7 separate regions of the Homo sapiens genome follow, and regions 2, 3, 4, 5, 6 and 7 are each linked to region 1. The links are contacts of gene promoters, found by promoter capture Hi-C in human tissues and cell types (Jung and others, 2019). All regions are on one chromosome and are shown on one strand. The core of a region is centred on a gene start or on the middle of the fragment in contact, and the rest is flanking DNA. Distances in the headings are between cores, read along the strand shown. Region 1 holds the start of ACOT1 (acyl-CoA thioesterase 1). Region 2 has its middle 6.1 kb from the start of MIDEAS-AS1. Region 3 overlaps NUMB (NUMB endocytic adaptor protein). Region 4 has its middle 4.0 kb from the start of PNMA1. Region 5 overlaps NUMB (NUMB endocytic adaptor protein). Region 6 overlaps DNAL1 (dynein axonemal light chain 1). Region 7 overlaps NUMB (NUMB endocytic adaptor protein).

Evidence for each region. Contacts are between HindIII fragments. The study calls those that stand out against the background at their distance.
Region 2: a contact is called between a fragment that was not itself captured here and the fragment with the promoter of ACOT1 in region 1, in 2 of the 25 tissues and cell types used here (H1 embryonic stem cells and dorsolateral prefrontal cortex).
Region 3: a fragment that was not itself captured here is called in contact with the fragment with the promoter of ACOT1 in region 1 in 2 of the 25 tissues and cell types used here (H1 embryonic stem cells and mesenchymal stem cells).
Region 4: a contact is called between a fragment that was not itself captured here and the fragment with the promoter of ACOT1 in region 1, in 2 of the 25 tissues and cell types used here (dorsolateral prefrontal cortex and hippocampus).
Region 5: a contact is called between a fragment that was not itself captured here and the fragment with the promoter of ACOT1 in region 1, in 1 of the 25 tissues and cell types used here (mesenchymal stem cells).
Region 6: a contact is called between a fragment that was not itself captured here and the fragment with the promoter of ACOT1 in region 1, in 1 of the 25 tissues and cell types used here (mesenchymal stem cells).
Region 7: a contact is called between a fragment that was not itself captured here and the fragment with the promoter of ACOT1 in region 1, in 1 of the 25 tissues and cell types used here (mesenchymal stem cells).

Annotation. Positions count from the first base shown.
Region 1 is chr14:73,535,799-73,538,579 of GRCh38, reverse strand. It overlaps ACOT1 (acyl-CoA thioesterase 1), which reads right to left and starts at 1,437. Exons shown (of 3, transcript NM_001037161.2): 1 at 702-1,437. The coding sequence starts at 1,158. All of the region lies in intron 1 of HEATR4 (HEAT repeat containing 4), which reads left to right. The HindIII fragment of the contact is 14,338 bases long and covers 1-2,781 here.
Region 2 is chr14:73,779,838-73,782,618 of GRCh38, reverse strand. It overlaps a transcript of MIDEAS not described here. Among named protein-coding and RNA genes, the nearest start is that of MIDEAS-AS1, 6.1 kb to the left of the region's middle. The HindIII fragment of the contact is 5,805 bases long and covers 1-2,781 here.
Region 3 is chr14:73,286,365-73,289,145 of GRCh38, reverse strand. It overlaps NUMB (NUMB endocytic adaptor protein), which reads left to right. Exons shown (of 13, transcript NM_001005743.2): 9 at 1,832-2,036. Among named protein-coding and RNA genes, the nearest start is that of PAPLN-AS1, 42 kb to the right of the region's middle. The HindIII fragment of the contact is 3,412 bases long and covers 1-2,781 here.
Region 4 is chr14:73,708,978-73,711,758 of GRCh38, reverse strand. No RefSeq gene overlaps it. Among named protein-coding and RNA genes, the nearest start is that of PNMA1, 4.0 kb to the left of the region's middle. The HindIII fragment of the contact is 7,422 bases long and covers 1-2,781 here.
Region 5 is chr14:73,382,323-73,385,103 of GRCh38, reverse strand. All of the region lies in intron 2 of NUMB (NUMB endocytic adaptor protein), which reads left to right. Among named protein-coding and RNA genes, the nearest start is that of NUMB, 75 kb to the left of the region's middle. The HindIII fragment of the contact is 4,633 bases long and covers 1-2,781 here.
Region 6 is chr14:73,684,101-73,686,881 of GRCh38, reverse strand. All of the region lies in intron 5 of DNAL1 (dynein axonemal light chain 1), which reads right to left. Among named protein-coding and RNA genes, the nearest start is that of PNMA1, 29 kb to the left of the region's middle. RefSeq lists an enhancer at 1,185-1,354. The HindIII fragment of the contact is 5,854 bases long and covers 1-2,781 here.
Region 7 is chr14:73,398,933-73,401,713 of GRCh38, reverse strand. The region is part of intron 2 of NUMB (NUMB endocytic adaptor protein); the gene reads left to right. Among named protein-coding and RNA genes, the nearest start is that of NUMB, 58 kb to the left of the region's middle. The HindIII fragment of the contact is 5,297 bases long and covers 1-2,781 here.

The DNA.
Region 1 (2,781 bases), core at 188-2,687:
AGTGCGTGGCACGATCTTGGCTCACTGCAAACTCCGCCTCCTGGGTTCATGCCATTCTTCTGCCTCAGCGTCCCGAGTAGCTGGGACGACAGGCGCCCGCTACCACGCCCGGCTAATTTTTTGTATTTTTAGTAGAGACGAGTTTTCACCGTGTTAGCCAGGATGGCCTTGATCTCCTGACGTCGTGATCCGCCCGCCTCGGCTTCTCAAAGTGCTGGGATTACAGGCGTGAGCCAGCGCGCCCAGCCCTTACAATGTCTTTTAACTGAGCACTAGGTTTGAGGGACCTCTCAGTTTTGGAGCGGCAGGGGCAATTCCCCAACCAACTTTCCATTCCATTCCTGTCTCCTTACACTAACCTCCGGAATGTTGGAAGCTACATCCTTTCTCCGTATGAAAAGCGCAGGGACGAAAAAAAATAAAAATAAAAAAATAAGTGTAACTCCCCTCAAAGGGCCGGGCGCAGTGGCTCACCCTGCAATCCTAGCTCTTGGGGAGGCAGAGGCGGGAGGATAGCTTGGGTCCAGGAGTTCAAGACCTACCTGGGCAACATAGCCCGGGGTGGTGGTGGTGGGGCGGGAGGAGGGACACACACACAAGCGAAAAGAGCGGGGCGGGGCGAAGGGGACACACACACACACACAGTGGAAAGCGCAGGAACAGGGATGGGCAGAGGGGAACAATTAGCGGAGGTGAGTCACCTGGCGGCAGGAAGAGCGTGCCTCGCACCCGGCCCGCGCGCACCGGCTCGCGCCGCACCCCGGGCGGGAGGAAGTAGCGCTCGTGCCGCACCCGGCACAGCAGCCGCCCGGGGTCGGGGTCGTGGCCATCCAGCACCTCCAGCTCCACGGCCAAGGGCGTTCGCACGTCGCGCTTCACCAGCCGCACCAAGGGTTTCTCGGGCTCCAAGGCCCAGAGCAGCCCCATGGGCTCAAGCCCCGCGAAGCTGCCGCCCAGCGCGGGCGCGCGCTCCAGGTCCAGCTCGCCAAGGGTGTCGGCGCGGTAGCGCGCGTGGGCCTGGAAAAGCGCGCCCTTCTCGTCGCGCAGGGACGCGCGCAGCGTGACCGGCTGCTCCGGGGCTAGGCCGCGCACGGCGATTCGCACCGGTTCGTCCCAGCAGCAGCGGCCCGCGGGCTCCAGGATCAGCGTCGCCGCCATCCGAGCAGGAACCCAAATAATCCGGCCAAACTGCCTCAGCTGTGGAGACCCCTGCAACTCTGCCCAACTCTTCCTCTCGGGCTGCCGTCGCAGGCTAAACGCCCACTAGGGCAGAGCTGTCTGCTAATGTGAGCGGGGAAGGCCAGAGTCCAGCCGATCAGCCAGACCAAATATAGACACACTGGAACTTGCTTAAAGTCTCCTGTGTTGAAACCTCCACTTTATGTTGGAAAGCAACTTCCTAGGTTTGCTTTTCAGAAGCTTGCTGGCTCGCGGAATGGGCTGGGCCAGGACTGGTTCGTCCCGGCTACTCGGGAGGCTGAGGCAGGAGAATGGCGTGATCCCGGGGGGTGGAGCTTGCAGTTGGCCAAGATCATGCCACTGCACTACAGCCTGGGCGACAGAGCGAAAGTCCGTCTCAGAAAAAAAAAAAAACAACAACAACCAGGCAGCTAGCAGTCTCCAGGCTCCAAACTCCTGATGGCGAAGAGGAATGCAGGACTGGAGTTGGTTTTGATCACTTTGTTGAATAATTCACACTCATTACTAATCTTAGGGCTTTTCTTTCAAAATCTGCACCATGGTGTTTTGCTTTCGTGTTCTCTGTATATGCCTATCCTCCACATCACTCCCACATCGAAGGGTGCTGGCTTCTTACTAGCTGTGTGACCTCTGAGCTTTATTCCTTACAGGTGTAAAAATAGCCAAATGAGGTAATAGTTATTAATTTCTCGAACTCCTGACTTTGTGATCCGCCCGCCTCGGCCTCCCAAAGTGCTGGGATTTACAGGCGATGAGCCACCGCGCCCGGCCAATAGTTATTATTTTCTTATACTGGTTTCTCATTTTTGTCCCAGTCAGGCAAGTGTTACCTCTCATCTTTTTTTTTTTTTTTTTTTTTTTTTAAAGAGACAGGGTCTCACTACGTTGCCAGTCTGGAGTACAGCGGCGGTTTACCATCACTGCGCACTTACAAGCCTCAAACTCCTGGGCTAAAGCCATCTTCCTGCCTCAGCCTCTCAAACACCTCAAGGGACTACCGGCGCTCCCCATGCATTGGGCTTTTTTCTACTTTTTCATAGGCTATTGGTTCCAACCAGAGGTGGTTTTTTTTTTTCATCAAACTTAAGCTTTAGGCCCCTCCCAAGCCCTTGTACCTGATTTCATAATTTCCTATCTTGGTAATTAGAGAAACCTATAAATGCGTAAGCTTCAAACTCACAAAACCTGTGTTTGCCTCTGCTCCTAATAAGGCTGTCCTCAAGGTAAGCCTTTTTATCTCTTTCCAAATGCTCTCATGTCCCATGTCCCATGTCATTATCATACAACTCCCTGTTAGTTGTAATTACCTTTGTATAGGTTCTGTGGCACACATCAAGTATATTCTGTGCATAGAAGTCTCAGGAACTAAAGAAGGTAAATAATAGTAGCTAATTGTTAATACTTACAAGAACCGTAGTAGTAAATTAAGGCCCAGAGAATTTAACTGATTTTCTGAAGATCATACAGCTGGGAAGTGGAAGTTGGGTGAGGTGGCTCACGCCTATAATCCCAGTTTACTTGGAGGCTGAGGTGGCAGGGTTTCTTAAGGCCAGGAGTTTCAGACCAACCTGGATAAGACCC
Region 2 (2,781 bases), core at 172-2,671, 240 kb before region 1:
GTGGCTTATGCCAATAATCCCAGCACTTTGGGAGGCTGAGGCGGAAGGATCACTTGAGCCTAGAAGTTCAAGACCAGCCTAGGCAATGTGGCAAGACCCCTTCTCTGTAAAAAAATGCAAAAAATTAGTCAGGCACGGTGGCACGTGCCTGTAGTCCCAGTTACTTGGGAGGCTGAGGTAGGAGGATTGCATGCCACTGCACTCCAGCTTGGGTGACAGAGATTCTCTCTCTCTCTTCATATATCTATATATATATATAGACTGTGAGGAGGGCAAAGTGAGGCTTCCTGGTTGGCCGCATGCTTGTTTTGCCCAAATAGGTGTTGAACTTACAAAACCAGGCTAAACTATAAAACTGAGTTTTGGGGAGATCCTGGCTGAACCCTAGCATTGGACTTGGCTAGGAGGACTGTGTTGCCTTTAGCCAGTCCTCATGCTGTTAATCACAACCTTGCCTCATAAGCCAGATTCTTTCTTTTTTGAAAAATAATTCACATACTATAAAATGCACGTATAAGCTAGATTCTTTTAACGTTTTGTTTTATTTAAAAATAGAATCTGGTAGATTCCTGTTTTTTACTCTACCCAGGCTGGAGTGAAGTGGTGTGATCTTGGCTCACTGCAACCTCCGCACCCCAGGTTCAAGCGATTCTCCTGCCTCAGCTTCCTGAGTAGCTGGGATTATGGATGTCTGCCACCACGCCCGTCTAATTTTTGTGTTTTTAGTAAAGACAAGGTTTCCCCATGTTGGCCAGGCTGGTCTTGAACCCTTGACTTCGGGTGATCCACCCGCCTTGGCCTCCCTAACCTCAAAAAGTGTTGAGATTACAGGCGTGCGCCACCGTGTCTGGCCTGAAGTCAGTTTTTTTTTTTTTTTTTTTTTTGAGACAGAGTTTCGCTCTTGTTGCCCAGGCTGGAGTGCAATGGCACGATCTTGGCTCACCATAATCTCTGCCTGCCGGGTTCAAGTGATTCTACTACCTCGGCCTCCCGAGTAGCTGGGATTACAGGCATGCGCCACCACACCTGGCTAATTTTGTATTTTTAGTAGAGACAGGGTTTCTCCATGTTGGTCAGGCTGGTCTCGAACTCCCAACTTCAGGTGATCTGCCCTCCTCCGCCTCCCAAAGTGCTGGGATTACAGGCATGAGCCACCGCGGCTGGCCTGAAGTCAGTTTTAATTGAAAGTTCTTAATAAACATAAAAGGGTGAAACTGGGATTTACATATTTCTGAAAAGTTATGTATAAACTGAGTTTAATAAATCAACATTTTTTCAGATGTGCTATTTTACAAAATAATCAACTTTTAGAATTGGATAGGATCTTACGGACTGTTATCATCCAGCCCCAGTTTTATAGTAACTGTAGTAACAGCATCTCCGATAATCCCATGGTTAAGGATTTAAAGCTTGGAAGGAAACCTGTGCTAACTCTCATTTTAACTGAGGCTTAGAGAGGATAAGTTCCTTCTCCAAGTTCCCACAGCTGTTGAATGGAAGAGTCAGGCACAAACCCCATTCTCCATTTCCACTGGCCATCCTGCATTGATAATTAGTCATCATAATCGTCAGTTTCAGCAGGTCTATTTGTAAACCAAGGACTCCATCTTCTCAGTTTCCCTAAGGCAGTACTCAAAGATTTAAAAAGGTGAAACTTAACAACAACAACAACAACAAAAAAACAAAAAAAACTAGGGGTGAAGAAGAGGTCTTTAAGAAGAGAGTGGGATGCGTATTTAATAGCTTTTACCATTGTATTATCTCATTGTAGTCTTAGTGGATCTTAATTGCTATCAAAGCCCCCAAAGTTTCCTACCCAGGCTCAGTTGGCCAACAAGATTACTTACTGTTTTCTAAGTGCAGAACATGGGTTAAACAACACCAAGAAGACAGAGGAATGCTCCCAGTTCCCAAGACACAGGCAGGAGAAGGCCCAGGAACACAGGCATGGCACTCTTTGAACAGCCAGTTAATGCAGGGCCAACTGTCCTCACCGGCCATTTGTGGAACAGCTGCAGTGCTGTCAACCATGTGAGTGTGGAAAGCAGAGTGCCACATGCTCCTTACCCCCAGGAGGCTTCAAGCCTAGCTCCTGAGATAGGTCATACCCATGCATGAGTGAGTGAAAGAATGAAGAACCCGAGGAATAGTCCCTTATAAACCATGACGGGGAAGGTCACTACTGTTACGGCTATGGCCACTTTTCTTTTTCTCCATAACTGGGGAAGTCAGATCCTAAATGCTTGTGGTCAGCACAGCTTCCATGGAGAGATGGTGGAAGAAATCCTGACCCTTTCCATCACCTCTAGAGCAAGTGGAAGAGGGTGGGATGGGGGAAGAACTGAGAGTGGATCTGTCACTGGGAGAGTATAATTTGATGGAGTGGCGTTTTCTGAGGTTCAGATTCTAAAGTCAGTGTGTAATATGAAATATAAAAATATAATCGGCCGGGCGCGGTGGCTCACGCCTGTAATCGCAGCACTTTGGGAGGCCGAGGCTGGTGGATCATGAGGTCGGGAGATGGAGACCATCCTGGCTAACACGGTGAAACCCCATCTCTACTAAAAAATACAAAAAAATTAGCTGGGCGTGGTGGCAGGCACCTGTAGTCCCAGCTACTCGGGAGGCTGAGTCGGGAGAATGGTGTGAACCCGGGAGGAGGAGCTTGCAGTGAGCTGAGATGGTGCCACTGCACTCCAGCCTGGGCAACAGAGCAAGACTCTGTCTCAAAAAAAAATAATAGGCCGGGCGCGGTGGCTCACGCCTGTAATCCCAGCACTT
Region 3 (2,781 bases), core at 133-2,632, 250 kb after region 1:
GGGAAAACCTAAAAGCACGGAGGGCCATAAATGAGGAGGGTTGCTTAGAGGGGGGATTCAGAAAGGGGAGACAGCAAAGCTTTTGTCTCATTGTTAGTTTTGTTTGTTTGTTTGTTTTTTGAGACAGGGTCTCATTATGTCACCCAGGCTGGAGTGCAGTGGCACAATTAGAGCTTACTGTAGGCTTAAGTGATCCTCCCACCTCCCAAGTAGGACCACAGACACACACCACCACCACACTCGACTAATTTTTTCTTTTTCTTTTTTTTTAATTATTATTTTTTTTGAGACGGAGTTTTGCTCTTGTTGCCCAGGCTGGAGTGCAATGGCACGATCGTGGCTTACTGCAACCTCCACCTCCTGGGTTCAAGTGATTCTCCTGCCTCAGCCTCCCGAGTAGCTGGGATTACAGGCATGCGCCATCATGCCTGGCTAATTTTGTATTTTTAGTAGAGACAGGGTTTCTCCATGTTGGTCAGGCTGGTCTTGAACTCCTGACCTCAGGTGATCCGCCCACCTCAGCCTCCCAAAGTGCTGGGATTATAGGCATGAGCCACTGTGCCCGGCCTTTATTTTGATTTTTATTTATTTTTTGAGACGGAGTTTTGCTCTTGTTGCCCAGGCTGGAGTGCAATGGCGCCATCTCAGCTCACAGCAACCTCTACTTCCCGACTTCAAGCAATTCTCCTGTCTCAGCCTCTCAAGTAGCTGGGATTACAGGCACCCGCCACCACATCCGGCTAATTTTTGTATTTTTAGTAGAGACGGGGTTTCGCCACGTTGGGCAGGCTGGTCTCGAGCTCCTGACCTCATGATCCACCCATCTCAGCCTCCCAAAGTGCTGGGATTACAGGTGTGAGCCATCGCACCTGGCCTAATTTTTTTTATTATTTTGGTAGAGACAGAGTCTCACTGTGTTATCCAGGCTGGTCTCAAACTCCTGGGCTCAAGCAATTTGCCCATCTCAGCCTCCCAAAGTGCTGGGATTACAGATGTGAGCCACCATGCCCAGCCTCATTCCTTTTTAATCACTGGAATTATATTTGTTTATCAGAAGTTTTAAGTTTGCACCTTTTTTTCCTAGACATATTAACAGTGCATTAAGCTCCTGAAATTTGCCTTGCCTTTCCAGTAGTTTCTTAGAAGTGGCTGGTAAATATTCCCACTGCTTCCCCAAAGGGCAACTAGAAGCTTGCATGTCAAGGCTTGAAACCTTGCATAGAGTCTTCTAAGCTGTTGGCCAGGGCTGACATGACAGAGCCTAAGTGATAAAGAGTTCTCCATGGCTGCTTACAAAAGCACAGGTTGCTGGTTATCACTTTACCCCAAGGCTTGTAACAGTGAATTGAACCATCATAAGCACTACCTTAGAAAATTTATTCATTTAAATTAATATGGCATACTAATCTATTAAAACAATTTTAAGCTGGAATTTGCAACATCTTGCTTTCATAAAAACAGACATTTGGGCCGAGTGTGGTGGCTCATGCCTGTAATCCCAGCACTTTGGGAGGCTGAATTGGGTAGACCACTTGAGGCCAGGAGTTGGAGACCAGCCTGCCCAACATAGCAAAACCCCATCTCTACTAAAAATACAAAAATTAGCCAGGTGTGGTGGTGCGTGATTGTAGTCCCAGCTACTCAGGAGGCTGAGGCACGAGAAGTATTTGAGCCCGGAGGCAGAGGTTGCAGTGAGCAGAGACTGCGCCACTGCACTCCAGCCTGGGTAACAGTAAGACTCTGTCTCAAAAACAAAACAAAACAAAAGACTTATTTGTATGTAATTGTTAGTAGTGTAATTCTGAAAAGCTTTTAAAATCTGCTCTTACAGGGTGAAAGGTTGAGCCATGCAGTAGGCTGTGCTTTTGCAGCCTGTTTAGAGCGCAAGCAGAAGCGGGAGAAGGAATGTGGAGTGACTGCTACTTTTGATGCTAGTCGGACCACTTTTACAAGAGAAGGATCATTCCGTGTCACAACAGCCACTGAACAAGCAGAAAGAGAGGAGATCATGAAACAAATGCAAGATGCCAAGAAAGGTACAATCTGTTCTACAGTGTGTATTTATGGAATGCAGTTTTTCCCAACAAGGTATTATTTTGAAGCTACCAGGGGTAAATTTTCTCATAATCAAAGAGAACCCTTAGCAATATAAAACCTTATAACAAAGTTGAAAATCTTAAAAACCGCTTCCTTTAGAGTGGCTAGTTTAATGGCTTCAAAAATATTTACTCCATTATAGTAAGCTATCTGAGGAATCAGAGTGCAGTTGAAGAAGCTGCAGAGACATCTCTTACCCCCTTCCTCCCATCCTGAAATACCTTTTTAATTCTGATGTATCTGATCTCTTTGAGAAGCAAATGAATCAAGTACCTGCATCTTAAAGGAAGCAGCAGAGGTCCCAGGGCTTAAGGCTGCAAAGCATCCACGGACTATGATGCTAGCAGAGAGATTTAACAGTAATACTGTTTATATGATATTATTGCTGTTTTTTAGTGCTTTCTAGTCACAAAAGTCTATAGATTTTGAGAGGTAAGCCTATAACTCTTTTTTTCTATAGCCCTGTTAATTTAATTTAGTGTGTGATTTTATAGAGTGTGAGTTTTATTTAGGTACACATGGCATCACAGCAGAAATGCCTGTACAAACATTCAAGTTAGTTGGCAGTCTATAAATGTGAGTTGGGTATATTTTACAACTAAATGATAGGGCTTGAAAATACTTTTGAATTCTTGTATATAAGTAGGGTTAAAACCAACAAGACAAGCACAAACAATTCAAGTT
Region 4 (2,781 bases), core at 205-2,704, 170 kb before region 1:
TGTATAAACATTTTTAGCCTAAGTAAACTGTCCTTTTTTCTTATGAAGACTTTGTCATTAAATCAAACCATTTATTTTAAGCTTTGTATGATACTATGTGAATTTAAATGGCAGGTCCTTTTTTTCCTTCCCCTCTTGCTGTCATCTTAACAGTTTTTTGTTTTGTTTTTTAATTTTTAAAATTTTTTATTTTTATCGGGCAGAGAGGGTCTTGCTCTGTTGCCCAGCCTGGAGTGCAATGGAGCGATCTCGGCTCACTGCAACCTCTGCCTCCCGGGTTCAAGTGATTCTCCTGCTTCAGCCTCCTGAGTAGCTGGGATTACAGACATGCGCCACCACGCCTAGCTAATTTTGTATTTTTTTAGTAGAGACGGGTTTCACCATGTTGGTCAGGCTGGTCTGGAACTCCTCACCTCAAGTGATCCACCCACCTCGGCCTCCCAAAGTGCTGGGATTACAGGCGTGAGCCACCTCGCCGTCTCTACTAAAAATACAAAAATTAGCCGGGTGTGGTGGTGCGTGCCTGTAATTCCCGCTACTTGGGAAGCTGAGTCAGGAGAATCGCTTTGGGAGGCGGAAGTTGCAGTGAGCCGAGATTGCGCCATTGCACTGCAGCCTGGGCAACAGAGTGAGACTCCATCTCAAAAAAAAAAAAAAAAAAATTTAGATACCAGATTTGGCTCACACTTGTAATCCCAGCACTTAGGGAGGATTGCCTGAAGCCAAGATTTTGAGACCAGCTTGGGCAACATAGACCCAATCTCCACCCAAACTTTTAAAAATTAGCCAGGCATGGTGGCACACGCCTGTGGTCCCAGCACTAAGGTGGCCACCCAGCGGCTAAGGTGGGACATCGCTTGAGCTCAGCAGGTTGAGGCTGCAGTAAGCCATGATCGTCCCACCGCACTCCAGCCTGGTGATAGAGTGAGACCCTGTTTCTCAAAAAATTTTTTTTTAGAAAATCTTGAAATGGGGTTCAGGAGGTTATCTGGCAGTGTTTTTCTCTTAAGATCACTTTTCAGCTAAACATTTTGTTTCACTGAAGAAATAGCTATAATTCATCACACCTGTGTAAAATGAAGGCTATTTTACAGCAACCATTTTATAGCAGGACGATATAAAAAGGGAAATACAACTTTAAAACATGTTTATTTTGCTGCAAAGATTCAGTGATTGAAGATGTCCATCTTTTGAGATCCTCAGTGAATCTAAAGTTATTACATGAATATTGTGTTCAGTGAGCCTTTCCCTAATAAGGTTTTAAAATTATAGCTGAGCCATTCGACAAGTCTATAAGGGGTAATGTATGTTCTTCCAGATTTTTCGGTACACGTATTCGCTTCATGTCAGTACATCCCTTTCCTCCTGTCACAAAAACATCTCCACATACTTGCCTTGGTTCCCAACAGATATGCTCAGCTTCACTTACCACAAACACTTGGCATGTCTTCACCTGCTACCCATCATTCACAGAACTTTCCCCTCCATTCCCACCAGCATCAGGTGCACACTCACCCCTCTTACACTCTTGACACACTGTCATCTCCCCGTCAGTACTCCCATCATAACATACACCCTCCTCCTGCTCCACATGTACACGATGTCAGTCTCCCACCCCCAACATATATTCCCATTTCTCCTCACACCCACACACACTCCCACCACCAAACACCAACCAGCCACCACATATGTATACACACTCCCACTCCACACATATACACACATACTGCATTTTTTTTTTTGAGACGGAGTCTCGCTGTGTTGCCCAGGCTGGAGTGCAGTAGCGTAATCTCAGCTCACTGCAACCTCTGTCTGTTGGGCTCAAGTGATCCTCCTGCCTCAGCCTCCCAAGTAGCTGGGATTACAGGTGTGTGCCACTACGCCCGGCTAATTTTTGTATTTTTAGTAGAGACAAGGTTTCACCATGTTGGCCGGGCTGGTCTCAAACTCCTGACCTCGTGGTTTGAAAGTACTCCAAAAATGCTGGGATTACAGGCGTAAGCCACCACAACTGGCCCACATACTACATTTTTAAAAATGGGCCCGTTGTAGTGGCTCACACCTGTAATCCCAGCACTTTGGGATGCTGAGGTGGGAGGATCACTTAAGGACAGGAGTTCAAGACCAGCCTGAGCAAAATACCAAGACCTTGTCTCCACAAAAATAAGTAAATTTAAAAATTAGCCAGGCTATTTAGGAGGCTGATGCAGGAGGATTGCTTGAGCCCAGGAGTTCAAGGTTGCAGTGATCTATGAACATGCCACCGCACTCCAACCTGGGGTGACGGAACAAGACCCTGTCTCGAAAAAAACAAAACAAAACAAAAAACCACGCACACAGATGCACCAAAAAAACAAACTAGGTATATAAGGATTATTCGGGGGGGGCGGGGGGGTTGTTTGTTTTGTTTTTTTGGTGTATGCTTGGGGTTTTTTTTTTTTTGGCCCAATATGTTATGGACATCCTTCTACAGTTTAAACATGGGGGGATAGACCTTCTTTTCATAGATGCAGAGTTGGCTGCATTCTTAGGAGGGAAGTTATTTTCATGCACGTCCGTGTGAAGAGAGCACCAAACAGGCTTTGTGTGAGTAACGTGGCTGTTTATTTCACCTGGGTGCAGGCGGGCTGAGTCCGAAAAGAGAGTCAGCAAAGGGTGGTGGATTATCATTAGTTCTTATAGATTTTGGGATAGGCGCTGAAGTTAAGAGCAATGTTTTGCGGGCAGGGGTGGATCTCACAAAGTACATTCTCAAGGGTGGGGAGAATTACAAATAACCTT
Region 5 (2,781 bases), core at 121-2,620, 150 kb after region 1:
ATTGGATAGCATAAATATTGAACATTTTCGTTTCAGAAAGTTCTGGGCCAGGCATGGTGGCTCATGCCTGTAATCCCAGCTACTCAGGAGGCTAAGGCAGGAGAATCGCTTGAACCTGGGAGGCAGAGGTTACAGTGAGCCGAAATTGTGCCATTGCACTCCAGCCTGGGCAGCAAGAGCGAAACTCCGTCTCAAAAAAAAAAAAAAAAAAAAATTACAGTTATTTGGCTGGGCATGGTGGCTCACACCTGTAATCTCAGCATTTTGGGAGGCCGAGGCAGGAGGATCACTTGAGCTCCAGAGTTCAAGACCAGCCTAGGCAACATGGCAAGACCTCATCTCTAACAAACAAACAAACAAACAAACAAAAAAGCCAGGCGTGGTGGCACGTGCCTATAATCTCAGCTACTTGGAAGGCTGAGGTGGGAGGATGGTTTGAGCCTCGGAGGCAGAGGTTGCAGTTAGCCAAGATCACCCTATGGCACTCCAGCGTAGGCGAGAGAGCCAGACCCTGTCTCAAAAAAAATTATAGTTTTTTAATTTTATGCATGTATTTCTTCTTTCTTGTATGTATTGTTGATTCTTTCCTGTGTTACTGTGCTTCCATCTGGGATTATTTTCTTTCTTCATAGACTGCACTTTTCTTTTAAGTGTAAGTCTATTGGTAATGAGTGTTCTATTTTTGTCTGAAAGCATTTTTAGAAATTTTGTCTTAAGCCAGGTGAGGTGGCTCAAGCCTGTAATCCCAACCTTTTGGGAGGCCGAGGCGGGTGGATCATGAGGTCAGGAGATCGAGACCATCCTGGCTAACACAGTGAAACCCCGTCTCTACTAAAAAATATAAAAAATTAGCTGGGCATGGTGGTGGGCCCCTATAGTCCCAGCTACTCAGGAGGCTGAGGCAGGAGAATGGTGTGGAGGAAGACTCCGTCTCAAAAAAAAAAAAAGAAATTTTGTCTTAATTTTAAAAGGATAGTTTTATTGGGCATAGAATTCCAGGTTGGCAGTTCTTTTCTTTCAGCATTTTAAATATATCATTTTATTGCCTTCTGACTTCATTGTTTCTATTTTATTTATTTATTTTTTTGAGACAGAGTCTCACTCTGTCGCCCAGGCTGGAGTGCAGTGGCATGATCTTGGCTCACTGCAACCTCTGCCTCCTGAGTTCAAGCGGTTCCTCTGCCTCAGCCCCTCCCAGTAGCTGGGACTATAGGCGCGTCCCACCATGCCTGGCTAATTTTTGTATTTTTTGTAGAGACAGGGTTTTACCATGTTGGCCAGGCTGGTCTCGAACTCCTGACCTCAGGTGATCTGCCCACCTCAGCCTCCCAAAGTGCTGGTATTACAGATGTGAGCCACCGTGCCCAGCCCCCCATTGTTTTTATTAGAGAAGCAATGTCTTCGGTTTTTAGCAGTTTTCAGTAAGATGCTTACGTGGTTTTCTTTCATGCTTTTTATGATTTTCATCATTTAAGATGTTTCAGGTCCGGAGATCCTCTAGGATCTGTAGCTTGATGTCTTTTGTCAGGTTTGGAATATCTCTTCTGATATTGCTTCTGTCTCATTCTTTCAGTTCCCTCTGGGATTCTAGATAACTGTATGTTAGATCTTTCTCTGCATCTCACATGTCTCTCATGCTCTTTTCTGTATTTTCTATCTTTTTCTTTGTGCTCCATCTAGATATTTTCTGTTGACCTTTTTTCTAGTTCAGTTAATGTTCAGTCTGCTATTAAAAGCATCTGCTATATTGTTAGTTTTATATTATGTATTTTTTAGTTCTCGATTTTCAATTTAACTTTTTTTTTGTTTTCATAGATTCCAGTTCTCTGGTGAAATTCTCATCTTGTCCTCTATTTTCCTGAACATATTAATCACAATTATTTAAAGTCTGTGTGTGGTAATTAACAATGTCTGGATCCCTGGATCCCCATTTGATCTTTCTCTTTTTTTATTTTTTGAAGACAGAGTTTTGATCTGTCACTGAGGCTGGAGTGCAGTGGCACAATCTCAGCTCACTGCAACCTCTGCCTCATGGGTTCAAGTAATTCTTGTGCCTCAGCCTCCCAAGTAGCTGGGATTACATATGTGTGCCACCACGCCTAGCTGATTTTTGTATTTTTGGTAGAGACAGGGTTTTGCCATATTGGCCAGGTTGGTCTCAAACTCCTGCCCTCAAGTGATCTGCCCACCTCAGCCTCCCAAAGTGCTGGGATTACAGGCATGAGCCACTGTGCCCAGCTCCTATTTGATCTTTTCCTATTGTCTTCTTTTTTTCTCTTGATTTTCAGTCATTTGGTTCTGTCTCCTAGCATTCCTGGTCATTTTAAAAATGAATGTCAAACATCATATATGGGAAATAATAGAGGCTCTTTATGATGATACTGTTCTGTAGAGAGGATTTGTTTTTCTCCTCTCTGATGGTAGTTAAAAGTAGGAGTAGATGACATTGTTGTAATATGGACTTGAGATGATCTGAGGCTTTGTTTTATGGTTCTCAAGGGCTGGTTTAAATCTAGTTTCCACTTCAAGAGTATTGTATTTCAGAGGTACCAGAGGTACCTAGGGTATGTGTCAGGGCCTCTCCTTCTTGTCAGGCCCTGGACTCTTAATTTTTCTGTGAGACTACCTAAAGTTCTGCTTACTTTTTTTTTTTTTTGCTATAAAAATAGGCACTTTGGCTGGGCGCAGTGGCACTTTGGGAGGCTGAGGCAGGTGGATCACCTGAGGTCAGGAGTTCAAGACCAGCCTGGCCAACATGGTAAAACCCTGTCTCTACTAAAA
Region 6 (2,781 bases), core at 84-2,583, 150 kb before region 1:
ACATCTGCTTTAAAGCCGATAAGGCAGGTTATTTGATTTCTATTACAGAGGGATTAAGGGCTTTTTCTAAGAACACACTATTAAATAATAGAGCTAGGTCTAAAATTCAGGGTCTTCTCCAACATTTATTATGATGATTTTCAAACATAAAAAAGTTGTTTTTTGTTTTGTTTTGAGACAGGGTCTCACTCTGTCACCCAGACTGGGGTGCAGTGTCACACTCACAGCTAACTGCAGCCTCAACCTCCCCCGGGCTCAAGCAATCCTCTCACCTCAGCCTCCCTAGTAGCTGGGACTACAGGTGCACACTACCACATCTGGCTAATTTTTGTCTTTTTGGTAGAGATGGGTTTTGTAGAGATGTTGTCCAGGCTGGTCTTGAACTCCTGGACTCAAGGGATCTGCCCGCCTCGGCCTCCCAAAGTGCTGGATTAAGGCATGAGCCACTGTGCCCAGCCAATAATACAATTTCCTGTAAGTATTTGTTAAGTAGATAATAAAGACAAGATTTTTGTGAAGCAGTCTAGTGAATATCAATGAGGAAAACCTGGCAAAGTTTGAGTGAATCAATTCAGTGAAATCTGTCATTAAATAAGCTGACTCTTTCGAGAATTGGACAATAACTGAACAGTCATTTAGCAAACTGGTCAGCTTCTGCATGTAAACAAGCCATTTCTCCCCTCAGTTTCTTACTCTGTAAAATGAGGAGACTGGCGCAATGAAATACCATCTCATACCCATTAGGATAGCTACTATCAAAATCACAGAAAATAGTAAGTATTAGTGAGGATGTGGAGAAATTGGAACCTTGTACACGGTTGGCAGGGAGGTAAAATGGTGCAGCTGCTATGGAAAACAATTTGGCCGTTCCTTAAAAAATTAATTATCATATGATAATTGATATCACTTAACAGGGGATCCAGCCATTCCACTTCGGGGCACATATTCAGAAGAAATGAAAGTGGGATCTCGAGATATTGGTACGCCCATGTTCACAGTAGCAAATTCACAATAGCCAAAAGATGGACGTGACCCAAGTGTCCACTGATAGACAAACGGATAAACAAAACATGGTATATACATACCGTAATAGAATATCATTTAACATTAAGCAGGAATGGGCTGGGTGCAGTGGCTCACATCTGTAATCCCAATACTTTGGGAAGCCAAGGCGGGCGGCTCACCTTAGGTCAGGAGTTTGAGACCAGCCTGGCCAACATGGTGAAATCCCATCTCTAATAAAAATATAAAAAAATTAGCCGGGCATGGTGGCACATGCCTGTAGTCCCAGCTACTTTGGCGGCTGAGGCAGAAGAATCACTTGAACCTGGGAGGTAGAGGTTGGAACGAGCCAAAATTGCGCAACTGCACTCCAGCCTCAGCGATACAGTGAGACTCAGTCTCAAAAAAAAAAAAAAAAATTAAGCAGAAAGGAAATTCTGACACACGCTACAACATGGATGAAACTTGAGGATATTACGCTAAGTTAAATAAGCCAGTCACAAAAAGATAAATGCTGTATGATACTACTTATATGAAATACCTAGAGTAGTTAAATTCGTAAAGACGGAAAGTGGAATGGTGGGTGCCAGGGATCAGGGAAGAGGCAGTAGGAAGCTACTGTATGCTTACAGAGGTTCAGACACACAAGATGAAGAGAGTTCTGGAGATGGATGGTGATGGTTGTGCAAGTCTACTTACTACCACTGAACTATACACTTAAAAATGTTTTAGATGGTAAACTTTATGTTATGTATATTTCACCACCATAAAAAACATTGGAAAAAATGAGGAAGTTGGACAAGTTCTTTAAGGTTCCTCTCAGCTATTAAAATTTATGATTTTTTAAGGTCAACAAACCATTGTAAGTATTGAAAACAAAAAAGTAAATGTCTACTCTGTAAATAATATCATGTTGGAGGTTACAGAAGTGGGAGAGCTTTATGAAATGCCATAAAATCTATTTTTTTAGTTTGTTTTTTAGTTTAGAGACAGAGTCTCGATCTGTTACGCAGGCTGCAGTACAGGGCACAATCAGGTCACTGCAGCCTTGAACTCCTGGGCTCAAGTGATCCTCCTGCCTCAGCCCCCTGAGTAGTTAGAACAGGCACGTGCCACCATGCTTGGCTAATTTAAAAAAATTTTTTTTTGTAGAGACAAGAGTCTCACTATGTTGTCTAGGCTGGTCTCAAACTCCTGGCCTCAAGCAATCCTGCCTCGACCTCCCAAAGTGCTAGGACTATAGGCGTGAGCCACCATGCCCAGCTGACCTCTATTTTAGACTATATGTAATGAGGATGATGATGATGATTATTGCTCTGTATAAAGTAATGAATCCAGGTAACACAATGTTGCTTGAAAATTGTTGTGGGGATGTGATTTATAAACAGTTAAGAATTGTTGGTAGGTAGTTGATTACATGTTAAGTATACAAAAATAAATGGCTTTTATATTATTTAATATAAACAGGAAGGGTGTTAAAGAGAAATGCATCATAGCAACAAAAACTATAAATTACCCAGGAAATTAAAAATAGAACTACCATATGATTCAGCAATCTCACTACAGGGTATATAGCCAAAAGAAATGAAAACAGTATGTCGAAGAGATAGCTATCAGCACTCCCATGTTTACTGCAGCACTATTCACAATAGCCAAAATATGGAATCAACCTAAGTGTCCAATAATGAATGAATGTATAAAGAAAATATGGTATATCACACAATGGAATACTATTCAGCCATAAAAAAGCATGAAATCCTGTCATTTGTTACAATGTGA
Region 7 (2,781 bases), core at 181-2,680, 140 kb after region 1:
CCTGTGGTCCCAGCTGCCTGGGAGGCTGAGGCAGGAGAATGACTTGAACCTGGGAGGTGGAGCTTGCAGTGAGCCAAGGTCATGCCACTGCACTCCAGCCTGGGCGACAGAGCGAGACTCCGTCTCAAAAAAAAAAAAAAAAAAAAAAAATTTAGTCTTACATATTTTGTTAGTGGTTTCCGTTGTACACATGGATGTGCTCTGGTGCCTTTGACATGAACCTTCCAGATCTGTACTTCTTTGTTTTGTTTGTTTATAGCCAGTTAGTCATTATTGGTTCATGAGTACCATCCCCTGTTTTTTTTTTTGTTAGTTTTGGAAGACTTAATTTTTTTAGAACAGTTTCAGGTTTATAGCAAAATTGAGCAAAAAAAATACAGAGAGTTTCCATATACCTGTTGCCCCCACAAACCCACAGCCTTTCTTACTGTCAACATTCCTTACCAGAATAGTACACAGGAGATATAAGAAAAATCAAACCAATACAAACTCAGTATAACACAGCACCTCTGGTCACCAAAATGCGTGGGGATTTCTATCTACCAGCAACCCAGTCAATTCTTTGGCAGACACCAGCTGGGTATCCTACATTTTAACTCAATTCTGACATTATTTACTTGGAGATAGAATCAGATCCCACAGGTTGAGGGCTCAATCCCCTACTTAAATTGCAAGCCCCACGTTGTGTCCTGTGCTTCTGGCTGATTAGCCATAAATTGGGGTTACCACAGCTCCCTCTTTTGGTTCAATTAATTTGCTAGAGTGGCTCACAGAACTCAGGGAAACACTTCATTTACATTTATTGGGTTATCATAAAGGGTATTACAAAGGAGACAGATGGAAGAGATGCATAGGGCAAGGTATGTGGAAAGGGGCATGCCATGCCTTCTTCAGGTGTGCCACCCTCCTGGAACCTCCAAGTGTTCATCTATCCGGAAGCTCTCCAAACCCTGTCCTTTCGGGTTTTTATGGAAGCCTCATTACATAGGCATGATTGATTAAGTCATTGGCCATTTGTAATCAGCTTACCCTTCAGCTCCTCTTCCCTCTCTGGAGGTTGGGGGCAACCCTCTTATCATGCCTTGGTCTTTCAGGTGACCAGCCCTTATCCTTGAAGCTATCTAGAGATGTCCAGCCACTGTCATCTCATTAGCATGTAAAAGATACTCATCACTCCAGAGGTGCCAATGGTTTTATGAGGTATATGTCAGGAAAGGGCAAGAAGACCAATTATATGTTTCATAATTTGTTATAATCGATAAACCCACATTGACACATTATTTTCACCCTAAGTCCTTAGGTTACATTAGAGTTTATTCTTGGTGTTGTACTTTCAAGGATTTTGGCAAATGTAATGACATGCATCCACCACTGTAGTATCATGCAAAATAGGTTTACTACCCCAAAGATTCTCTGTGCTCTGGCTGTCCATCCCTTCCTCTCACCTAACCTTTGGTAACCACTGATCCTTTTCCTGTCTCCATAGTTGTGCCTTTTCCAGAATGTCATATAGTTGGAATCATATGGTATATGTAGCCTTTTCAGATTGGCTTCTTTCACTTAGTAGTGTGCATTTAAAGTTCTTTCATGTCTGCTCTTCATGACTTGCTAGCTCACTTGCTTGCTTATTCATTTATATATTTTTACTTTTTTGTTTTTTTTTGTTTTTGTTTTTGAGACAGAGTCTCACTCCATCGCCCAGGCTGGAGTGCAGTGGCACGATCTCAGCTCACTGCAACCTCCATCTCCTGCGTTCAAACGATTCTCCTGCCTCAGCCTCCCGAGTAGCTGGGATTACAGATGCCACGACATCCAGCTAATTTTTTTATTTTTGTAGAGATGGGGTTTCTCCATGTTGGCTAGGCTGGTCTTGAACTCCTGACCTCAAGTGATCCACTGGCCTTGGCCTCCCAAAGTGTTGGGATTACAGGTGTGAGCCACCATGCCTGGCCTGTTTATTTTTTAGAGACAGGCTCTTGCTGTGTTGCCCATGCTGGAGTGCAGTGGTGTAGTCATTGTTCACTGTAAGCTCAAACTCCTGGCCTCAAGCAGTCCTCCTAGTTTAGCCTCTGGAGTTGTTGGAATTACAGATGTCAGCCACTGCATATGGCTAAGCCTTTTTTTCTCTGGCATATTTTTTTTTCTTTTTTGAGACATAGTTTCTCTCTTGTCGCCCAGGCTGGAGTGCAATGGCACAATCTCGGCTCACTGCAGCCTCTGTGTCCTGGGTTCAAGCAATTCTCCTGCCTCAGCCTTCCAAGTAGCAGAGATTATAGGCATGCGCCACCACACCCGGCTAATTTTGTATTTTTAGTAGAGACAGGGTTTCTCCATTTTCGTCAGGCTGGTTTCTAACTCCGGACCTCAGGTGATCTGCCCGCCTCAGCCTCCCGAAGTGCCAGGATTATAGGCGTGAGCCGCTGTGCCCGGCTCTGGCATATTTTCAGTCCATAGCTGGTTGAACCCATGGATGTGGAGGGCCAACTATTTAATATGCTTAATGTAAGTAAGTGCTTATTTTTGAAATATTTTCATATTGTTTTGTGTGTATGTGTTTTTAATCCGTATAATGGTATTATGCTGTGAATCTATTTATTCTTTTTTGATCAAAAAAAGGAATTATGGAAGCGCATACTGTATTTGTAAATCTAGTTTACAACAACTGACTGTTGTATAATGTTCCATTGTATATGTATTTCCACATTTTACTTGTATGTTTCTCTAATAATTGATACCTAGGTGTGTTGAAAACTAAAACAAATAGTGCTGCTGTGTACATCC